3 separate regions of the Homo sapiens genome follow, and regions 1 and 3 are each linked to region 2. Evidence: promoter capture Hi-C in human tissues and cell types (Jung and others, 2019). All regions are on one chromosome and are shown on one strand. The core of a region is centred on a gene start or on the middle of the fragment in contact, and the rest is flanking DNA. Distances in the headings are between cores, read along the strand shown.

Evidence for each region. The method cuts DNA at HindIII sites, captures the fragments that hold promoters and counts their contacts. A contact is called where the count stands out against the background at its distance.
Region 1: a fragment that was not itself captured here is called in contact with the fragment with the promoter of RCBTB1 in region 2 in 2 of the 25 tissues and cell types used here (adrenal gland and small bowel).
Region 3: a fragment that was not itself captured here is called in contact with the fragment with the promoter of RCBTB1 in region 2 in 2 of the 25 tissues and cell types used here (dorsolateral prefrontal cortex and hippocampus).

What each region holds. Positions count from the first base shown.
Region 1 is chr13:49,352,973-49,356,328 of GRCh38, forward strand. All of the region lies in intron 6 of CAB39L (calcium binding protein 39 like), which reads right to left. Among named protein-coding and RNA genes, the nearest start is that of CAB39L, 89 kb to the right of the region's middle. The HindIII fragment of the contact is 4,293 bases long and covers 1-3,356 here.
Region 2 is chr13:49,583,924-49,587,537 of GRCh38, forward strand. RCBTB1 (RCC1 and BTB domain containing protein 1) reads right to left here and starts at 1,635. Exons shown (of 13, transcript NM_018191.4): 1 at 1,521-1,635. RefSeq lists a silencer at 1,159-1,868. The HindIII fragment of the contact is 9,086 bases long and covers 1-3,614 here.
Region 3 is chr13:49,396,916-49,400,559 of GRCh38, forward strand. The region is part of intron 3 of CAB39L (calcium binding protein 39 like); the gene reads right to left. Among named protein-coding and RNA genes, the nearest start is that of CAB39L, 45 kb to the right of the region's middle. The HindIII fragment of the contact is 6,659 bases long and covers 1-3,644 here.

The DNA of each region.
Region 1 (3,356 bases), core at 201-2,700, 230 kb before region 2:
GAGGAAATAGACTACTTTCCAATATCAAATTTACAAATATTAGTAGAAGAAACAGCAAACAAAGATACCAGGGTGGTATTTATTCATTTTTGTCCTGTTTATGCAGAATGATATTCACAAATATTGAGTATTCCCTGAATAACTCATAGTAACATTAAATGCTGATACATTCAGATAGTCATGATTCTTTGTAGAATATAAGGAATGCCAATTTATAGTGCTAGCAATTTCTCTTATTAGAAAAACCTGAAACTCAGCCTATTGGCTCACAAGGAACAGTTGTCAGGTGGGGTTTTATTAAAGATGTTGTAAAGAGGGGTATATGTTCTGAAATGTAAAGGAGAAAAGCACTGTCATTTATTGATAGAGTACTCAAGAGAGTATAAAATAAAGGCTGTTGGCCTAGAGAAAGAATCTAAGGGAAGGACAATTAAAATCCAGACTTATTGATCAGCAAGATATATGTGGATTTTTGTAATTTGGCCCTAACCTTAACTTTTCAGTTTCATCTCCCATCACATTCGTTATTTCCCTGGAGCCCCTCATTCCCTCAATTGGAATGCCCTTCTTACATTCCCACAACTCAGATGCTTCTCATCTCTCAAGGCTTAGTTCAAATGCCATCTCCTCCTTGAAGCCTTTCCTAATCACTACAATTCAGGATTATTCTTTCTGCCCTTCACACTCAAATAACAGCTTGTCTGTAATTTCTCTTTAACACTTTTTTCATTCTGTATTATGTTATACTGCAGTAAATTGCTATAGGTCTATTTTCTTCATTACAATCAATTTAATTGTTGGGGATATGTTTTACTTATCCTGTTACCTTCTCCTCTCCTCCCCTATCCCCATCTCCATTTGGTGTCTATGTCATTTATTGCTACTTTCTCCTGTCCCTACCCCAGTCTCCGAAGAGTGCCTATTATAATGTTTTTCACGAAGCATGCATATAATGAATTTAATGAACCTCAAACTGAAGAAATGTCTTAATACTAGAGTACTCTAATGAGAGTCAAACTCTGACGTATACAAAATATGCATCATCTCTGGCCAACATTTTCTCATTTCTTAATTCAATTTCCAAACTAAGACCATCTATAAAAAGTTTCCACTCTAACTTTTGGGTATAATTAGTTCTCTTTTTCCTTTCATTTCGTGAAGCTTATTGAAACCATCTGTGATGCACTGACAGTTTATTCTTGAGAATCAAAAGAATGTTTTTAAAAAACCAAGACTCCTCTGGGTCAGCACACTTGTCATTTCATCCCAGCAGTTTGACATCTGTCATTCTGAGATTACAACTTCTTAAATTCAGAAATACATAGGGATATACAGAGATATATAGGGAATTCTAATTCTCCTCAGTACTCTTTAAGTGATTTATAATTCACATAGATCATTTCTACCTGACTACCCTCTAGTATATTGACTTTTGATAGGTTATTGCTTACTATTTAAAGAAGTGCTCCAAAAGATAAGCTTAGGTTAAGTTTCAAATCCCACTAACATTAATATCCTTAGGTCTGTTAAAGAATCAATATGTATCCCACCTAATCTATTCTACTCATAGATAAGCTTCCTGATGGCAAGGATCCTGCCTAATTACTGCATTTTCCACAATGGCTAACCCATGGCAGGTCCCCAGTAAAGGTTAATCTGATGAATGCTGAATCACTATTTTATAGAACTGAATCTTATCTTCCCTCTTGATTTGTAATTTAGATCATATAGTCTGGACTATAATGAACTGTGTCAGTGTGGAGAAGGCACTATCTAGGCATGCCCATCAAATAATGACAGCATAATGAAAAGTCTCTCTCAAATTTAATGAAAGCCAAAATGTAAGAGCAATGGTCTCAGCTGGCAGTGAGCTACAGTAATCATTACACAGAAAATGGTCAGAAGAATGATCTTGTGCAAGAATATTTCAATTTAAGAACAAAGATTACATTATGTAAGGGGGAAAATGACTTTTGTGATTATTGCTGGAAGTAAACAAGGCCAGGAAATACCTGGAAAGCTTTTGTAAAATGCCATTCAACAAACACTTGGCCTCCTCAATATAGTCAAGAACGTATGTTTCTAATCTAGAAACATTTGCTGACTAAAAATAATGAGTTAGGCCAGGCATAGTGGCTCATGCATATAATCCCAGCACTTTGGGAGGCCAAGGCAGGAGGATTGCTTGAGCCCAGGAGTTTGAAACCAGCCTGGGCAACATAGTGGGACCCTGTTTCTACAAAAAAAAAAAAAAAATTAATTAGCTAAGTGTGGTGGCATGCACTTGTAGTCCCGGCTATTTGGGAGGCTGAGTCAGGAGGATCACTTGAGCCTAGGAGGTTGAGACTATAGTGAGCTGTGATCACAGCACTACCTTCTAGTATGGGCAACAAAGCAAGACCCTGTCTCGATAAATAAATAAAATAATGAGTTAGTTCTGTCCACCAAAAAGGCCTAGAAGCAATAACAATCCAATGTCAATGAGCACCCCTAGCAACCAGATTGTAGTCTCTAAGAACCATTTCTCTCTAAAAAGAACCAACATCCTTGGTAGAAATTTCAGGTCTTTGTCAGCAAATGTACAAGTTGGGTGGCATATCTCGTTACACCAGAAAGCAAAGAAGCTCTCAGAAACTATTTTAGTGATGTTAAGAGATATCACCTAGAAGGGGCCACAGATGGCCAATTGAGCATTAAAAAAACATGTGTAGAACTAAATAAGACATATAGAAAACATTAAATCCATTAGTTCATCAGATACTAGAAGAGTGTGTGTCTCTGTACATATATAAATATATATATATATTTATACACACACACATATATAAAGGCAGGGGGAGGGAGGGAAATAACTCATTAGACACCGATGAAAGTTCCTAGGATATCTTATTTTTCTCTAAAATGATAATTAAAAGAAAAGAATTGAGCATTTATTCTGCCTCTCTGGTATGAATTATACTTCAGAGTATTCTAACACCTGAAGCTGTGGTGGGTGAATGACAGTATTCTCTATAAAACTACTTTAGCCAATAAAAAATACAAAAGGAATGACAGAATTCAAAATTACCTTTTTGTCACCTCTAGCAAAATGACGGAATCAGGCAATGTTCATCAATGGATGGTAAAACAATTAAGTTTAAGGTTGATGGGAAACTTTATAGTGGATTAGACTGTCACCAACTGAACCCATTGCTCAGTCTTAGCATTACTAAAAGTACATCTCCTAATGTGATGAAATATGAACTACATAGCACCATCTACAAAATAACTGCCAAAATGAAACTGCTTAAAATTTTTTATAATAAACTTAAAAAAACAGGATAATTGGGAGAAATTTATGATTTTAACATCAGCCT
Region 2 (3,614 bases), core at 385-2,884:
ACTCTGTGAGGCCCCAGCCTCCTTTCCTATGCATGACTTACTGTTTAATGTAGTACACACAGAAGGGATATCATCATCATAATAAAGGTCCTCACTTTCCTTCACAGTTTCATCTACCCCACAATGACTCCCAGGAAAAGGAGGGTACTGTTTCAGACTTCCCAGCTCCCGTATATTAGGTGGAGCCAAGTTCTTGCTGCAGCATACGGGCACGCTTTAAAATTTTCAAATCATTTTTTAAAAGCTACAAGCTTGACAGCTTTGGGTTTTTATGGCTACTTGTTTTCTGAAGTTCACAGAACTTTATCATTTGGATCACACACTTAAAAAAATCACTTGCAAAAATCTCTTTAAAGATGAATATGCTTCCTCTTCAAGAGAAACAGACTAGCGGGTAGAAGAAAAAGGACCCGTCTAGAGTATTAATAAATAGACTGATATTCACACAATGGATTAAATGGATTAAAGTCCATCCCACAGATGAACTGTTATATTAATAGAATCCAAATATACAGTTACATCCTCGACCCTGAAAGCAGTTTAAACGGGTGAAATTCACCCAGTGCTCACTTGAAATGAGTACTCTAAAGTTTAAAGCACCTATAAACTGCCCTCAGGATTCAATCATTTTTCCATTCCTTCCGGCATTATATACTTTGATGTTTTAATGTTATTAGCCCACAATACACACCAGTTTCAGAAACTCAGTTTTTGTCCTCTAAGGGCTTTTAGTCCTCCCAAAAAAAGAATAGGGCAAAAGCAAGGAAGATCATGAATCTGGTTTTCTAAAAGCATTATTACAAGACTGCTTTATAAAATTGTAATCCCCAGCTGCAGAGTTCCGCAGATGGCTTGAAAGTGTCTTACATGCAAATAAATAAAAACAAAAGGCCACTTATGCGAGCAGAACACAGCGTGCTCGATAGTCATCTTAAACCGAGCAGGTAGGTACTTTATCAGAGGCAGACAAGGGAAACGTCACTTATTTAGAGTTCACCGCACGCCTGGATAAAAGTCCTCACTAACAAAATCCCTGCCTTTGTGGATTCTGTGTCGGAAAGGGAAACGATAAAGAATACGGTTTGTGACAGCACTACTCTCAGGAGACGAAGGAGAGATGCTAAGATCTTGGAAAGGAGAGAGAATAGGAAGAGTCGGAGGGGAGATCTCCTCTCAGTAAAACGGCACCCACAGCAGTCAGACTTCAGCTACGAGCAAAATCGAGTCCGTGCACCTCAAAAAAGAGAGGGAGGCAGGGAAAACTTTCCCTCGCCTCTCCCCATCCTTCCCTCCTCCTCGCAGGAGAGCACATTAGCTGAGGTGCTGGCGGGGCCGGGCCGGGGACCCCATCCCTCGCCCCGGACGCAGCGCCCGCAGGGACTGCCCGGGAGCCCGAGCGAGGGAGGCGGGAGGTACAGGAGTAACGGGGCACTCCCGGCCCGGCCTGCGGGGAAGGGAAGCAGGGGCAGGGCCGAGGGGGAAGAGGCCTCCGCGAGCTCGACCCCGCGCCCACACGCTACCTGCGAGGTCAGCTGCTGCCGCGCCGTCCCGCGGGACCGCAGGGATCTCCGAAGCTCCAATGGGCGCAGAAGTGCGAGCGAGCGGCGGTGCCCACCGGCAGCGAAGAGGAGGAGCGCCAGGGCGCCGGGCCCGCCGGGTCACGTGGCCCCGGCCGCCTCACGTGACCCGGTGCAGCGCGCGCCCGGGACGCTACCCAGCCGAGCATCCCGCACCGCCCCGGCCCCGGCCCCGGCCGAAACCCTGCTCTTCGGGCCCTACAACCCGACTTCTTTAGAAGCCGATTGGCCGTCTCAGGCCCGCCCCGAGGCCCTGCCACTGGAGTGTCCCCATGAAATCCGGTGGCTGCTGCCGGGACTTAGAGGCTTTTGTGTCTGAGGAACCAGGAACGCGCGAGGCACGGGCTCCTGCTCTGCTCCCCGAGATGGCTTGGCTGTGGGGAGGGTCGGCCTACCACCCCAGAGACCTAGGACGGAAAAGCGACCGAGAAACTTGGCTCCCTGCCCACTCTAGAGCGCGTCTGGCCCCGGGGCACCACCCAGGTGGTGCTGCCTGGGAGGAAAGGCGGCGGAGCTGGGACTAGTTTGTTTTTACTGGAGACGCGCCTCCCTCCCTCCCCGCCCCTCACTTCCTGATTGAAAGTACCTGAGGCAGGCCAGGGACTAGGGAAGGTGGCAGCTGGACAAAGGTATGAAGGAAGGACGAGATGAGGCACAGGTCCTGGTATTGGAAAGAGGCAGAGGTACCTCGGAAGCATGCCATAGAGGTTAGACGGGACCTAAGAGGGCATCTGGTCCAACCGGATTCGTGTTACCAGCGAGTAAACTGAGGCCAGGAGAGGGACTGCTACGAGCTGCTCCAGCCTATCACCTATAAAGACTACAGTCCCTTTGTAAAATACCATACAGCTCTCGGAGAACTCCCAGTTGGCGCTGCAGGATAAAATCCAAACTTGTTGGCATAGCATTCCAGCCACTTGTTCACTTACCTTTCCCATTTGAGCTCCTAGGAATAAACAGAAAAACATTTCATTTTCTAAATATCACCAGATAACTTCACTTTTGGTAACTTGAATTATTAAAAAAGTCCTACCGTCCCTCATCTCTTGCCACTTCCCCAACATTACTGGAGGCTCTGGCTACAAATAATTTGTTTTCCTTGACTACTCAACTTTCTTTGGATTATTTACTTTTTCTCTAAGTTTCTTTACTCCTTTTTGCTTTGTTCATTCTTTTGTCTGTATCTGAAATGTCCTGAATCACCACCTCCCCCACTTAAAGAAAACCAGGGCCAATGATTAAAAAAAAAAAAAAAGGTATTAAGAAACTAATGCAATAAGAGAATTGAGCTTAGTTCTGTATCTATTCTGAGGTCTCGCTCCTGTTGCACTAGTTCCTGAATAAAATGTTTTTACCACTTCAACTACTGTTTGGCTCTGGTTTTCTTCAACAGCCTCCAAAGTACACATCAGTTTCCTACTCATCTTTCAAAATCCAGGTCAAATGCCGCCTACTCTTGTCTTCCCAGCATCCTCTTCCCTGATTTTTTAGCAATTGAAGTTCATCCAGACAGTGTCAGCTGCAACTTCTTCCCTGATTTCCAGAATACTATATATATTCTGATACACCTCACACTGCCCAGAAATAGACTGCGCATTTCCTGTAAAAGGTGAATTGTCTATTGCTGTCTTCTCCCTTAGATTATAAACTCTTTGAAACAGGATTCTTCTGGGTTTAGAACAGCGCCTGGCATGTGATAGACCCTTAATACTCACTGAATGAAGTGGCTTGCCCAAAGTAGTGGCAGTTGAGTGAATTTACTAGAAGAGGCCTGTTTTGCTCAAAGAAACTAAAATCAGTTTCTTTTGGTTGCAACCCGATCAAAAGAACTTGTGTAAACATGTCTGAGAGAAAAACGAGGGCATGGGGTGTGAGCAATCAAATATGTCCTGAGCCCTCACTGCTTATGTGTCAGATGCCATACTTGGAGCATCTTGGAGGATTAAAAGCTGAATGAGACATGGTTGCTGATAAGGAATGTGTAGTCTGGTTCATTATTCCAGTACAGGGTGAAAAGTATTATGATACAAGGTGCTA
Region 3 (3,644 bases), core at 88-2,587, 190 kb before region 2:
GTGCATTTGATTATATGAAAATCTTAAAACAAAAAAGTGCACCTTAAAGTTCTACTGTATTTGCTACTGTATCCAAGAAGACTCTCCCCCAAAAAACATAATTTAGAATTGCCTTCACAGAGATGGTTAAGTTACAAAGCATATCATTATATATGTAATAATACCATATCATTATGAACCATATTATATATGTCAAAGAATCTTCCAATCAGTATCTTCTATGCTTCAATTTTTCCATTTTAAAATATGCATCCTAAATGTAATTACAAAGCACCACAACTGAATTTTGTACTTGAAAACCTATAGATATGAGTGAAACAATAAAGTATAAATAACAACTTTCACTGACAATCCCTTTTTCAGTTAAAAATGACTAAGAATAACTTGTTTTTATAAGTTTTATTAACCAAATTTGAGGGAGAGGCACTTTCTAAAAATGGGCAATTTACACAGAAATGGAAAAGTTGTGAGGAGCTTTTTATGAGTCCCATTCATCTGGAAGCCTCAGTCAGACTTACATCAGAAGAAAAACTCTTTTATAAGAGAAACTCATGTCCCTTGTTAATTACTCTTTATTTCTAATGTACAGTAACACTGAAATACATTTTTAAAAATAATTAACATATAAAGTTAGGAATATATACAACTACTACTACATTTATTATCTAAGGATCCTACTAGGCTATTGTAGTTCCAGAAAAAAAAACTAGTAACTTTATTCATTACGTTCACACTGATGTTTCTGTTGACAGCTCCAGTCATTTGTCAGAGCTAAAATTTTCCACCTTTATTAGCTATTAATAATTGTCAATGATTGAAAATTTTATATTAGAATTTTACAATCTCAACTTATAGCAGCGATCTGAACCAAAGTCAGTATTCTCAAAAACTGGTAACTATCATTAAAGCATTAGATCTTACTGAAATTAACAAATGGTTACTCTTTAAAAAACAGAATTATCAAGGGAGACTCATAATTCAGTTTTCATTCTTTCTTGTAAGCACATACATATTACACATAACAAATTTTGGTTAGTTACTGTTATTGATATTAAGACATGGTTTATACAAATAGTGTGAAATACAACTATTTCATAGCTTCAGTAAGCCCTGTGCCTGTCTATGACCTGTCAATCTATAAAAACATTAACATGAGAGAATAGAGATGAAAGTGATTTTGCTAAAGTTATCTGTTATCCCCAAGCTGTTCAAAGTTGATTCGGTTTTTCTGGCTGAGTAATTTGATATAATCTTTCATCCTTCCAAAGTTGGAAGGGACTATATGAGTTTCTGCTAGAAGTTTGAGACATTTAAGTCACAAAACTGCAAAGTATGTTATCTCACTTATAAGCAGTAAAGATCTCTGTTTAAACTAATTAATTAGTGAAATACCAACTTTGACTATAATTAATAGACATGCTAATATAGTTTTAATAGATTTTTCTTTGTTATGTGACTATCAGCTAAATATAATCTTTAAGCCACATTACGAATATATATGTGCATGTAAACACAGTCATATATATATCCCAGAAATGGAAAATTGTCCAAATCTACCTGTATCCATTCAGTAAATACTTGTTAAGAACCTATTATATACCATTTAGGACCACTCAAAATCATTACTTTTTACATAAGATTTACAATAGACTAAAGAAAGTATTTCTTGATCAAATGCAAGAGTTTTTACGCCATTACAAATCATCCAAGATAACCAAAACCTGCATCTACTGTATTGTTTATTTCATTATTATTTCATTACATATGCATATTGCATTACTGACTTTTAAATTTCATATACTGGCAATTCACAGAGACTTTCAGGACCAGTAAAGTTAACTTGGATAGACCCAAGACAAGTTTTCCAAATAAGTCACATTTCTTCATATGGGTCCTAGTAAACATTTGCAAATACATAATCCTTCTGAGTTAAAGTTGACACCTGACTTTAGAATGTCCCATGTACTCAAGATACCTAACCTTGTAAATTGCCTCCCCTCAGCACCATTCCTACTCATTCAAGGCAGCAACCAAGTTATACCATGGTCTTTTCTTGTTCTCTTCAGAGTTAGACCTATTCTATCTTACTTTTGCTTTGTTCACATCTCACAATTCAGTCAATTCTTTTCAGGCCATCTCTTTCTCATAAGGAAAAACGTGTGCCCCTAAGCCTCTTTCCTTTATTGGATATCTTGGAAAATAACCCATTTCAATTTTTGTGAACCAAAGAAACAGTTTAGTCCTCATGCAATAACTATTATCAGGTACCTACTATGTGCCACACACTGGGCTAGACCCTTAGGAATGGCTAAGTACAAACTCAATGGCCAGAAATATTCTTGTAGCAAGAAAAAGAGAAATCACTGATTTCAATGTCAGATTAGATCTCAAAAACAGTGCAATCAACCTTGAAAGCTCATGAAAGCACCCAGAAAACCCATAAGCATCCTTCCAAATACCTATCCACCTATTAAACTTGCTTTTCTTTAAGCATTCATATTTAGAATAAAAATAATATCTTATCCAACATAATTATTTTATATTTAGTTTCGTCATTGGAATTGACTTTCTTATATTTTTCAAGGTAGCAATGGTTTTTCTACAGCATGGGTAAAATACATGCTTAGACTATAATAAACGCCCAACAGTCACTTGATAAACTGTTTCCCAGGGAAAATGGGTTCTAAATTTCCAACAACCCATTCACAAGTAAACTTCTCAAATACAAAGTGTTTGTAAATTGGGAATGCATTATTCTTTATTTCTATATTTACATTCCTATGGGCCTGGGAAATGGTACCATCACTAAGGTAACACAGTGAATGATTAGTTTAAAATAAAAAATTATTCTGAAGAGTGTGAAGCTGTATGCAAATAATTTTCCACCAGTCTAAGAAGGACTGAGCATGGGAAAATCTATAAAGAAGTAAAAGTAAGTTTGTGATATTATCTCTATGATGTTTACTTTTAAGTGCAAGATACTAACTAGCCCAGAAAAGGTTCCCACAGACCAGTTGAGCTGCTTCTTATACATAGGTCAACAGTCTAAAAAAAAAATTAAAACCTGCAAAATCCCACAAAACAAAACCTGTTTTACAGGCTTCTGTACACGTAGAGGAAATGTTAGAGAAATTACAGCCATTTTATGGTCTATCTAGGGTACAAGCCCTTCTAATGTGTTTACTGATACTCTGCAGAAGTTTTCATTTCAGTTGTTTTGCCTTAAAGGATTCACTTGAATCAATAACTAAAGACATATATATTTTTTGAGGCTAGCAGAGGGTAGATTAGAAACTCTGCTTAGAGTGGTGTATCCTCATGCAGTGACTCAATTTCACAGTTAACAACATACACTTTCTTCCTCCTACAGAACAATGATTACATGCCTCCCTCCATGCCTTTAAAAAGATATATATAATTGGCATACACTCTCCTATTTTAAGATTATACAAAAAAAGTTTTATTGGAATGTGAATAGATATTTTTAAGAGTTTATTTTTCTTTGCTCTATTGCTTATACAAACACAAACACACACACACACACACACACACACACACACACATGGTTATATTAGCTCTTCAACAGAATAAGATTATACGAGAGGAAAGCTTGGTATAAACTGTAAGAACAAAATAACTGCTTT